Linked DNA regions of Homo sapiens: regions 1 and 3 are each linked to region 2. The links are contacts of gene promoters, found by promoter capture Hi-C in blood cells and fetal thymus (Javierre and others, 2016). All regions are on one chromosome and are shown on one strand. Each heading gives the region's core, a stretch centred on a gene start or on the middle of the fragment in contact. The rest is flanking DNA. Distances are from core to core; before and after follow the strand shown. Region 1 holds the start of HDDC3 (HD domain containing 3). Region 2 holds the start of TICRR (TOPBP1 interacting checkpoint and replication regulator). Region 3 overlaps VPS33B (VPS33B late endosome and lysosome associated).

Region 1 (3,934 bases), core at 1,109-3,608, 1.4 Mb before region 2:
CCGCTCCCATAGTCCCCTGAGCCTTGGCCACCCTGGATTCAGAGCACTGTGAGGCCACTGCCTTATTTCTTGTCTGTCTTCCTCTTTTCCACAGACTGTGGGCTCCCAAAGAGCCAGGCTTATGTTCTTCTTGCACCCCCAACAGAGCACACTGAGCTGGGGGCTGCGATGCTGAAGGCAGCTGTCCACATCACTTGCTCTCTGCGCGGGCCGGTCAGCTCCAGAGGAATTCATCTGGGGCAGGCCCAACTCGGCCCGCTGAATTAGCCTCCACGATCCCCGGGCCTCCCCGGCGCCAGGGGGCGCTGTAAACGTTCCGTCCCTGCCCCTGCGGCCGCAGTCGTCGGCCCCATCCGCGCGATGGGCTCTGAGGCGGCGCAGCTGCTGGAGGCTGCCGACTTCGCGGCTCGCAAGCACCGGCAGCAGCGGCGGAAGGACCCCGAGGGGACCCCCTACATCAACCACCCCATCGGTGGGCGCGTCGGCCGCGGAGCGCCGGCTGCGGCACCTGGGTGGTGGGGACTGGGAAGGAAACGTGGGGGGCGTGCACCTCATTGAGCACCTGTTTTGTCCCAAGCTTAGTGCGATATACCGTTTAAGCCTCATAACAATTGGAACGGTAGGCATGATCGTTCCCTTTGTCGGTTGGCTCCCAGAGGGTAAGGTACTTGACCAAGGTCACCCAGCTAGTCAGAGTCCACAAGGGGCCACATCTGGCTCTCCAAAACCCACAACACACCGCCTTGGGACTACCTCCGACCTGACTTCCTGCTTTGCCCCTCCCCGTCAGGTGTGGCACGGATCCTGACCCACGAGGCGGGAATCACTGACATTGTGGTGTTACAGGTAACTTTCCCCCTTCTCTGCCAGGAGCCTGGGATGGGGATTAGGGGCCCCATTCAGCAATGGGCAACCCTTGGCTGACATCTCAGGGCTGAGTGGGAACTTGTCCCCAGGCGGCCCTGCTCCATGACACGGTGGAGGACACAGACACCACCCTGGATGAGGTGGAGCTACACTTTGGGGCACAAGTGCGGCGCCTGGTGGAGGAGGTAACAGATGACAAGACTCTGCCCAAGCTGGAGAGAAAGAGGCTGCAGGTGGAGCAAGCGCCCCACAGTAGCCCCGGGGCCAAACTGGTGAAGCTGGCAGACAAGCTGTACAATCTGAGGGACCTGAATCGCTGCACCCCAGAGGGTACGCTTTCGTATGGGCTGTAAGGGAAAAGGGAGGGGGATGCCGCCTTCTGAAGACACATGTTGGTCAGTTCCCCTGAAAAACCCTGGGCATTCTTAATTCCCAAATTAATCCTACTGGACCACTCTTTGATCTTCTTTCATACAGTAAAAATACAATAGCTGGGCCAAGGGGAAGTTTTCAGGACAGCTCATTCCATCAGGAACTCATGGCCTTGAACCAAGCTTGCCAGGAAGTGGGGAAAAGGCAGTGCTTTCCTTGACATCACGCTAGCAAGTTTCTGTCGACTCTTATGCAGGATGGTCAGAACATCGAGTCCAGGAATACTTCGAGTGGGCAGCGCAGGTGGTGAAGGGGCTTCAGGGAACAAACCGGCAACTGGAAGAGGCTCTAAAGCATCTGTTCAAGCAGCGGGGGCTGACAATCTGATCAGTGCTTGAAGCTATCCAGAGGCACAACTCCAGCCTCGTTCAGGCCGGACAGGATTCATACGCCATCTTTTCTGTGTCTCCTGAGCTCCCTCCATCCTTCCCAGATATTAGAGGCCAAAAAAAGACTTGCATTTTTTCTCAGTCTGAAGGTCTCCTGCTAACTAAGCTGAGCCCCGCGTGGTGGGAATCAGATGTACCCATCCATTTCTGATGCACTCACCGCCTCTCCCCAAGTCTTGGGTCTGTTTGCTATTTTGCATGGTGGGATCTCTGGCCCCTCAGGGACTTGAGATTATTTAAGTACTAGTTCCTAACACGTTCTGGAAAATAAAAATAACTCTGGGTTAAGGTTTAAGCTGCTGCTGCTCCTTCTCCAGCCTCCGACTGGTGGGCTGCATATCTTTCCTTCAGCAAAGCAGGACTAATTGTGTGTCCCGGAGTCACCTCCCTCAGGTTGCGGGCCTCAACCCCTCCGAACCTGGCTTCCTTGTCAGTGACATGGGTTGTGTAATTATCAGGTTAGACTGTGACGTGCCTGATGGAGCCTGACACATAGGTGCTCAAGAAATGGTAGCAGCCTTTCCCGTTAAGAAAGTTGGAAGGGGGCCAGGCGCGGTGTCTCTCGCCTGTAATCCCAGCACTCTGGGAGACCGAGGCGGGCGGATCACTTGAGGTCAGGAGTTCAAGACCAGCCTGGCCAGCATGGCGAGGCCCCGTCTCTACTAAAAATACAAAAAAAAATTAGCCGGGCGCAGTGGCTCGCGCCTGTAATCCCAGCTACTCAGGAGGCTGAGGCAGGAGACTCGCTTGAACCCGGGAGGCGGAGTTTGTACTGAGCCGAGATCGCGCCACTGCACTCCAGCTTGGGTGACACAGCGAGACTCCGTCTCAAAAATGAAAAAAGAAAAGACGTATCGGAAGGGAGTGCCGCCCGCTTACTGACAACCACTGCTGGGCACCGGAGAGACCCCAGCAGCAACATGATTGGGCCGGTGGGGGATTCCGGTTCCCCAGTACCTCAAGCCGCGCGGGAAACTCGGTGACTCGCAATCCCCTCGCCCTTCCGCATTGCGGGTTACTTCGGTTGTTAAGTGACAGGGACTTCCGGGAAGGCCCGGAAGTGGCCCGGGGCTGTCCGACCCCGGGAGCCCGGCGGTCGGCGTAGGGGAGGCGGTGGAACTTTGCTCGGTGGCCATGGGGAGGGATTGCCCGGTGGTGGTTTTTCAGTCGTTGCTGAGCAGCTGAGGTTTATTTTTATGTATTTTATTCTGCATCCAGTCATCCATTAAAGCCAAAGTTTATTAAGTTGTCTGGAAAAGCGATCATCTTGGGTACGAGGAAATTGTTAGGTCAAAGCTGTTCGACTACGATAGTTGTTTGCCCAAGTGAAGGCCCCAGCGGAGGGCTCTGCGAAAAAGTAGGTGAAAGGCAACCAAAAAAGCCGAATTAAAAGAAAACAAATGAACAAAGTTCAGAGTAATCCCCAGGGTATGGTACATTTTGGAGAACTTTGAACTTAATTTTTTTAAATAGTTTTGCGGGAGTAAGATAACGAGATTTTTTTAAGAAAAGATGACTTTGTTGTAGTCCACTTTATATATTTTGTTGCCTGTGTTTTTAGTGTCATATCTAAGAAATCGTTGCCAAATCTAATGCCATGAAGCTTTTCCTGTTTTCTTCTAGGAGCTTTCGTTTTAGCTTTTTTTTTTGAGACGGAGTTTCACTCTTGTTGCCCAGGCTGGAGTGCAATGGTGCCATCTCTGCTCACCATAACCTCCGCTTCCCGGGTTCAAGCTATTCTCCTGCCTCAGTCTCCCGAGTAGCTGGGATAACAGGCGTGCGCCACCACGCATGGCTAATTGTTGTATTTTTAGTAGTGACGGGATTTATCCTTGCTGCCCAGGCTGGTCTTTAACTCCTGACTTCAGGTGATCCACCCGCCTTGGCCTCCCAAAGTTATCGTTTTAGCTCTTACAAGTAAAGTTTTTGATCCATTTTGGGTTAAATTTCTTTTTAAATCAATTTAATTTGGTATAAGGTATACATGATGTTATGAGGCTACATACAGGTAGTAAAAAGGTTACTATAGTGAAGCAAATTAACACATCCATCATTTCACGTAGTTACCCAATTTTTTGTTGTTTTTGTGGCAAGAACATTTTGGGTTAATTTTTGTATATGGTGTAATTTTTTTGTATATACACCATATACAAAATATATGATGTATGGTTTTGCTTGTGGATGTCCAGTTTTCCTAGCACCATTTGATGCAAGGTCTGTCCTCTTAGTACCTGTTTTTGGATTTT
Region 2 (4,006 bases), core at 1,493-3,992:
TCACATCTTTCACTTGGTTAAACCACATTCCAAAGCCTTCCCATTAATTAATTAGAACAAAATCCACATTTTTGACCTTGGCCCTACAGATCGGCCTCTCCTGCTTTCTGACTTTCTCTCACACTGCTCCCCTTGCCTACTAGGTCTCAGCACTCCTTGCCTTTTTGTTTCTGAAACAAACTAAGTTCATTTCCAGCTGAAATCCTTACACCTGCTTGTCTCCTCACCTGGAATGTTCTTTACCTACCTTTGAGTTCCTCCTCCTTCACCATTCAATTCTCTGCTCAAAAAGGCCTTCCCTGCCAGGCACGGTGGCTCATGCCTGTAATCCTAGCACTTTGGGAGGCTGAGGTTGGCGGACTGCCTGAGCTCAGGAGTTTGAGACCAGGGTGGGTAGCATGGTGAAACTCCGTCTCTACTAAAAATACAAAAAAATTAGCCAGGCCTGGTGGCGCCCGCTTATAATCCCAGCTACTTGGGAGGCTGAGGCAGGAGAATTGCTTGAACCCAGGAGGTGAAGGTTGCAGTGAGCCGAGATCACGCCACTGCACTCCAGCCTGGGTGACAAAGCGAGACTCTGTCTCAAAAAAAAAAAAAAAAAAAAAAAAAAAGGCCTTCCCTCACTACCACTCTGTATACAATAACCACCTTCTACTCCCATCCTCTCACCCCATTTTATTTTCTCCAGAGCATGATTTGAAATTGTCACTTGCTTATCTGTTTAATCTGTTCCCTGCTTTGGTTACCATGTCCCCAGCAGCTCAAACAGTGTGGTAGGCACTCAGATGTTACTGGCTTCTCAATGAACATTTGTTGACTAAATGAAGTGCAATGAGAAGGATGAAGGCAAAAGTATATACTTATCCTAGCACTTAACAGGAGCAGGGGGCCTCACCGCCTCAGCAAAAATCCAAATTAGCCATTTAAGACTTTAAGTTTGCAAGAATGTACGCAAGAATGTACTCATTTAGTCAGCCAATACTGACTGAACACCTACAACGTTTAATACACATCTGGGTGGCTGGGCGTGGTGGCTCACACCTATAATCCTGGCACTTCGGGAGGCCAAGGCAGGCGGATTGCCTGAGGCCAGAGTTTGAGACCAGCCTGGGCAGCATGGAACCTGGTCTCCACTGAAAATACAAAAAAATTAGCCAGGCATGGTGGCGTGGGCCTGTAGTCTCAGCTACTTGGGAGGCTGAGGCATGAGAATCGCTTGAACCCGGAGGGGTGGAGGTTGCAGTGAGCCACTGCATTCCAGCCTGGGCGACATACACTGTCTCAAAAAATAATAATAAATAAATATATATATGTATATAAATAAATGTGTATATATATGTGTGTGTGTGTATATATATATATATATATATATATATATATATATATATACACACACACATACACACACACCCCTGGGTATTGTGTTAAAACCTGCTGCTTGCCTCTGAGGTATTTTTAGACTAGATGGAGGGTGAGAGATGTGCATAATCAAAACATATGGAGAAATGGTTAAGTGCCACACAAAATGTGTATGGCAATTCAGACGCTGGACTGAGCAGTTGTCACTGGGAGAAGAAGCCTTAAAGGGTAAGTGAAGTTAAGACTGGCCTGGAAGAGTGAGAACTGGCATTCCAGGCAGATTGAACAACACACATAACACAAAACAAGCAGTCCAGACCTGTTGATTTTCTGGACTGGACTTCAATATGCTAGAGTAGATGTAGTGTGTAGGAAAATCAAGTCTGGGAAGGCAGGTAGGGCCCAAATTGTGAGGGGTCTTAAACAGTAGGTAGTGAGGAACTACCCATTTTGTTGTGAAAACTGTTCCTATTTATTTGTTTCCTTCCGAAGGGACGCATAGTCATATTAGTCTCATTCGGGGTCTGTGGCTGTTCTAAGGACGCTGCCAAGTTCTGGTTAGCAAGGAAAGCACCGTGCACGCCATCTGAGACGACAGTAACCTTCCTTACCTTAGACCATTCGGTGGTATCCACCCAGTAGAAGGTGATTTTTCGGGCGACCATGACTTCCCGGACTCTCTTGGGCAACAACTTCTCCATCACCTGCTTAGGGGTGGGCGGCAGGCGCTGGGCCTGGGCCTCGCACCCAGACACGAACTGCAGCAGCTCCCTCTGCGAGTGCGGACAGGGGGCCAGGAGGAAGACGGCGTTCACCAAGCCCCCGAGCGCGGCCTCGGCCTCCTTGGCCTCGCTCTCCACGTCCAGCAGTCTCCTCCCGCTGCTCCGCAGGATCGGCTTCGTGGGCGACGTGATCTCGGGCCGGTCCCACTGGTAGTCTAGCAGCGTCTCCATCAGGGCGCCGTGCGTGTGGGTGGCCCTGGGCGCCGGGCCGGGCAGGTGGGCGCGATCCTCGAGCCTGGCCTCCAGCTCCTCCTCAAAGTCCTCCCACGAGCGGGACCCCAGCTCGCGGAAGTCAGACACGCGGGACGGCCGGCTCCGCGCCCCCTGCGAGTCAAAGAACTTGAAGGCCCAGTGGACCCTGGCCAGGCCGAATCGGCAACTCAGATAGGTGAGGAGGCGCAGGGCGGCCCGCCGGACCCGGCTGTGGCGGGCGGCGCCGCCCGCGGTGTCCAGCAGCAGCATTACTTTGTGACAGCATGCCATATCGGCCGTGCCGCCGCCCCGGGGCCCCGGTCCGGGCCCGCGCCACCGTCCCTTAGTCCCTTCCTTCAGGGAAACAGCACCACTCACTGCTTTCCTTTGGGACCCTGGTCGAAAGGCTCCCGCGCTCTCCAGGAACTGCTGCTATTGGGGGAGCTAGTTTCCAAGGTTTGCTCCTATTGGCTGCTTGCCTTACGTAAGTTACGAGAGCAACTTCCATTTTTGGCGGTGATTGGAGGGGCAGTGGAGAAAACTTCAGTCTGATTGGTGGAGGGAGTGACGGTGGGCGGGTCTCTGTGGTCCGAGAGAAGCTTAGCATTCATTGGCCTGGGCCTTCGTTTTAAATTTTAAAGAGGTGGTGCCTCGGGGGCGTGTCGAGAAGTTTCGCCATTGGAAAGAGGCCAGCGTTTGTGCGCAGTCGTGAGTGCGGACTGCGGGGCCACGTTTCCCAAGACCGAGGAAAACTTAGTGCCGGGAGGGAATTTGGGATGGTTTGAATCGAACTTGTTGAAATCCCTGTGGACCGCCTAGGAAGTAGAATCTGACGACTACGGCTTTTTCTGTAATTTAAAAAATTTTATTAAAAATTAAAGGTTCACTCCCTTTGCCCCAGTAACTTCTAGGAGTTTATCTGCAGAAGGTAATCGGAGAGCCAGATAAAAGACGTCTGTACATCTTAGAGTTTATTTAACATCAGAAAAAATGGAAACAGTTTGGGAATGGTTAAATAAGGTATGGTACACGCCCAAGGGGAGCATCGTGCAGCTCCTTTTTTTTTTTTTTTTTTTTTTTTTTTTTTTTTGAAACGGAGTCTCGCTCTGTCTCCTAGGCTGGAGTGCATTGACACGATCTTGGCTCACTGCAACCTCCACCTCCCGGGTTCAAGCGATCCTCCTGCCTCAGCCTCCTGAATAGGACTACAGGCGCACGCCACCACCCCAGACTAATTTTTGTATTTTTAGTAAAGACGGAGTTTCACCATGTTGGCCAGGCTGGTCTCAAACTCCTGACCTTGTGATCCACCCGACTTGGCCTCCCAAAGTGCTGGGATTACAGGCGTGAGCCACCAAGCCCGGCCTAGTGCAGCTTCTTAAAATAGTGTTTTATTATGTAATGTTAGGTTTTAAAAGTGGACTGCAAGCAGCACCTGCAGTGAATTCCCTAAATTTTCTATCTACATGTATATATAGATAGAAATCACATGTAGATTTGCATTACAGATAGAAATTATATATCGCTATATAGATAGAATACATAGAATTATATATAGATAGGCCGGGCACGGTGGCTCACGCCTGTAATCCCAGCACTTTGGGAGGCCGAGGCGGGCGAATCACCAGGTCAGGAGATCGAGACCATCCTGGCTAACACAGTGAAACCCTGTC
Region 3 (3,724 bases), core at 937-3,436, 1.4 Mb before region 2:
GCTGGGAGGGACAGAATGAATTGGAGAAGGTGGACTGATTCCTTCCTATTAATGTCATTACTATTATTACTACTACTTCTGCTAGTAAGAGCAGTTTCCACATAGTAAACACTTACCATGTGCTGAGCCCTTTAGTTTCTCATTTAATCTCACAAAGACTGTGAGATAAATTTTCTCATCCTCATTTTATGATGAAACTGAGGCTTAGAGAATTAAGTGATTTGTCCAAGGTCCCTTAGTTAGTAAGTTAGGTCGGTTTAACTCCCAAAGCACATACCAATAAACTCGGGTTACCCTGTGGATTGCATTTAGTAGAGAGCTGGTACCCCGTAGGAGGGGGAAGACTGTGGGTGGGGAGAAGGGTGGGGAGTATATCTTGATTAGTTCCAGGGAATTATAGTTGAACAGCTTCCGAGAGTTTTTGGATGTGATTGGTGCTGTCGTGTCCTGAATGGTGTTATCTGTGGCAGTGTCATGAATCCATAGACCTTAGGTGAAACCTGACACAGATTTCTTCCCCAGGAAAGATTACTGATGCCTTCAGTTCTCTGGCCAAGAGGAGCAATTTTCGTGCCATCAGCAAAAAGCTGAATTTGGTATGTGGAACAGGGATGGTTAGGGGAGACAGTGGGTTCATTCCATTGTGGAGTACTTTTCTTTTTTTTTTTTTTTTTTGAGATGGAATCTTGCTCTGTTGCCCAGGCTGGAGTGCAGTGGCACAATCTCAGCTCACTGCAACCTCTGCCTCCCAGGTTCAAGTGATTCTCCTGCCTCAGCCTCCCAAGGGATTACAGGCATGTGCCACCACGCCCAGCTAATTTTTGTATTTTTAGTAGAGACAAGGTTTCCCCATGTTGGCCAGGCTGGTCTTGAACTTCTGACCTCAGGTGATCCGCCCACCTCGGCCTCCCAAAGTGCTGGGATTACAGGCATGAGCCACTGCGCCCAGCCCATTGTGGAGTACTTTGAATCCACAAAAACCTTTTTGTCATTTCATGTGTATAAAGATTCTTTTGTTTGGTAGTCTTATAGCATGGTAGATTCATTCATTTAATCAACATGTAACAAGCACCTGCCAATGCCAGAGAATATTCTAAGTGCTGCTTCAGTGACAACCATATCCTGTGTCACTTAAGGGTAGGGAAAGGAGAAGCCATCCCTCCAGCCCCTTTACATTATTCAATAATGGCGCATGGGAACTCATTCCAGAGAACTGGCAGTTACTGAACAAAAACTGCCATCTTCCGTTATGGATTCTCTTTTCAGGGCTATTGCTGGTTCTCCCTTTAGTTGAAATAAGAATTGTTCCTTGGGCCATGCCACTTTATCTGACCCTTTAAAGGGTTAGGGAGCTGAGCTGTCACTTGCCTAATGAAGTCCCTTTGTCTTACAGATCCCACGTGTGGACGGCGAGTATGATCTGAAAGTGCCCCGAGACATGGCTTACGTCTTCGGTGGTGCTTATGTGCCCCTGAGCTGCCGAATCATTGAGCAGGTGAGAGCATGTAATTCTTGCTCCCATTCATATTTCATTCTCTCTGCTTTCTCTTGGTCCCTGGCGTGTCTCAATGTTTTTTTTTTTTTATTTGAGATGGAGTCTTGCTCTGTCACCCAGGCTGGAGTGCGGTGGCACGATCTTGGCTCACTGCAACCTCCACCTCCCAGATTCAAGTGATTCTCCTGCCTCAGCTTCCGAAGTAGCTGGGACTACAGGCATGTGCCACTGCACCCAGCTAATTTTTGTATTTTTAGTAGAGATGGGGTTTCATATAGACAGGGCCAACTATATGTTGACCAGGCTGGTCTCGAACTCCTGACCTCAGGTGATCCCCCCGCCTCAAACTCCTAAAGTGTTGGAATTACAGGCGTGAGCCACCACACCTGGCCCTGTCTCAACTTTTTGCTACTTGAGTAATGAGCAAGAAATGTGACAGTCTGGCTGCTGTGCCCTTCCTTTCCTAAGCCTGATACTGTCTGTAGCCTTAAAAACAGTGCTTACACCTTCCCAGGTGCTAGAGCGGCGAAGCTGGCAGGGCCTTGATGAGGTGGTACGGCTGCTCAACTGCAGTGACTTTGCATTCACAGGTATGTGGCATTAACAGTGGGGTAGGCTGGCAGTGAGAGGTGGGCTGGATGCACCACTCAGGACTAGCATGTCAGGGAAGGGCTGAATCTGGTCTGATCCTCACAGATATGACTAAGGAAGACAAGGCTTCCAGTGAGTCCCTGCGCCTCATCTTGGTGGTGTTCTTGGGTGGTTGTACATTCTCTGAGATCTCAGCCCTCCGGTTCCTGGGCAGAGAGAAAGGTAAGAGAGAGCAGAAAGGTGAGAATTGGCCTGCATTGTATCTGGGTAACAAAGTGTCAGCTGGGCACGGTGGTTCATACCTGTAATCTCAGCACTTTGGGAGGCGGAGGCGGGCAGATCACCTGAGGTCAGGAGTTAGAGCCTAGCCTGACCAACATGGTGAAACCCCATCTCTACGAAAAATACAAAAATTAGCCAGGCATGGTGGCCGGTGCCTGTAATGCTAACTACTCGGGAGGCTGAGGCAGGAGAATTGCTTGAACCCGGGAGGTGGAGGTTGCAGTGAGCTGAGATTGCACCATTGCACTCCAGCCTGGGCAACAATAGCAAAACTCCATCTCAAGAGAAAAAAAAAAAACACGCAAAGTGTCCTGCACAGGAATATTTTTCTCCTGGCCTCAGAATACAACTTGCCATAGCCTTAACTCTGGGCTGCCACAGCAGGGAGCCCAGTTATACCAGTCATAGAAAGCAGTGGTGCCCAAGAGCATGGCACTCACGTCTCTGTCTATAAACTGGTGCTGTGATCCCGTGGGGACTGTGGAACTGGAGAGGCTCTATGGGTTGCCGTTGGGGCCTAAGATCTGTGCTGTCTCTTCTGCTGCTGCATTTGACTCCTTAGGCTACAGGTTCATTTTCCTGACGACAGCAGTCACAAACAGCGCTCGCCTTATGGAGGCCATGAGTGAGGTGAAAGCCTGATGTTTTTCCCGGCCAGTGTTGACATCTTCCCTGAACACATTCCTCAGTGAGATGCAGGCATCTGGCACCCAGCTGCTATAACCAAGTGTCCACCAACTACCTGCTAAGAGCCGGGAGCATGGAACGTGTTGGGATTTAGAGAACATTATCTGAGAAAAGAGTTCACTTCCTGCTCCCAGGATATTTCTCTTTTCTGTTTATGAAGTACAACCCATGCTGCTAAGATGCGAGCAGGAAGAGGCATCCTTTGCTAAATCCTGTTTGAATGTCATTGTAAATAAAGCCTCTGCTCTCAGATGTAATACGTTGGTCGTTCTGGACACGCACTTCCATCTTTATTAGTGAAAGCCCATTGGAGCTTGCTACAGGGGCTTCCTGTGCTTCTTGGCCTGGACTTTGTAGTGGCTCCAGGCCTGGTCTGGTTCTTCCCTGTAAAAATCACTCTACCACTCTGTACCTGAGTTTCCTCTACCATAAAATGAGGGAGATGGCTGAGGTGACCAGCAAGCACGTTTCCAGTTCTAAAATGTTGTGATTCATTACATTTTTGAGAAAATGACTTTGTTGTTTTAATTTAAGGAGGCACTTCAATTTTAAGCGTTTGTTTCTTATTGCAGAATGAAAGATTGTGTGCCATTAGAGCCATTTCAGGCATCAGCAAACAGTGCTCCTATAAATGTGCCAGCACCCTCCTCATTACTGATGCTAGTAGCC

The links. The method cuts DNA at HindIII sites, captures the fragments that hold promoters and counts their contacts. A CHiCAGO score of 5 or more calls a contact.
Region 1: a contact is called between a fragment that was not itself captured here and the fragment with the promoter of TICRR in region 2, in 2 of 17 cell types (fetal thymus and naive CD8 T cells). The highest score is 8.3, in fetal thymus.
Region 3: a fragment that was not itself captured here is called in contact with the fragment with the promoter of TICRR in region 2 in 1 of 17 cell types (monocytes); the score reaches 6.7 in monocytes.

What each region holds. Positions count from the first base shown.
Region 1 is chr15:90,928,967-90,932,900 of GRCh38, reverse strand. HDDC3 (HD domain containing 3) reads left to right here and starts at 352. Exons shown (of 4, transcript NM_001286451.2): 1 at 352-472; 2 at 791-846; 3 at 957-1,197; 4 at 1,496-2,933. The coding sequence starts at 361. The coding sequence ends at 1,626. It also overlaps a transcript of UNC45A not described here. RefSeq lists enhancers at 155-204, 955-1,184, 2,815-3,044. The HindIII fragment of the contact is 1,870 bases long and covers 1,424-3,293 here.
Region 2 is chr15:89,574,205-89,578,210 of GRCh38, reverse strand. TICRR (TOPBP1 interacting checkpoint and replication regulator) reads right to left here and starts at 2,742. Exons shown (of 22, transcript NM_152259.4): 1 at 1,971-2,742. The coding sequence starts at 2,624. RefSeq lists an enhancer at 1,815-2,343 and a silencer at 2,465-2,754. The HindIII fragment of the contact is 7,754 bases long and covers 1-2,934 here.
Region 3 is chr15:90,998,261-91,001,984 of GRCh38, reverse strand. VPS33B (VPS33B late endosome and lysosome associated) reads left to right here. Exons shown (of 23, transcript NM_018668.5): 19 at 523-596; 20 at 1,394-1,495; 21 at 2,010-2,085; 22 at 2,192-2,308; 23 at 2,931-3,312. The coding sequence ends at 3,010. Among named protein-coding and RNA genes, the nearest start is that of PRC1, 5.6 kb to the right of the region's middle. The HindIII fragment of the contact is 6,968 bases long and covers 1-3,724 here.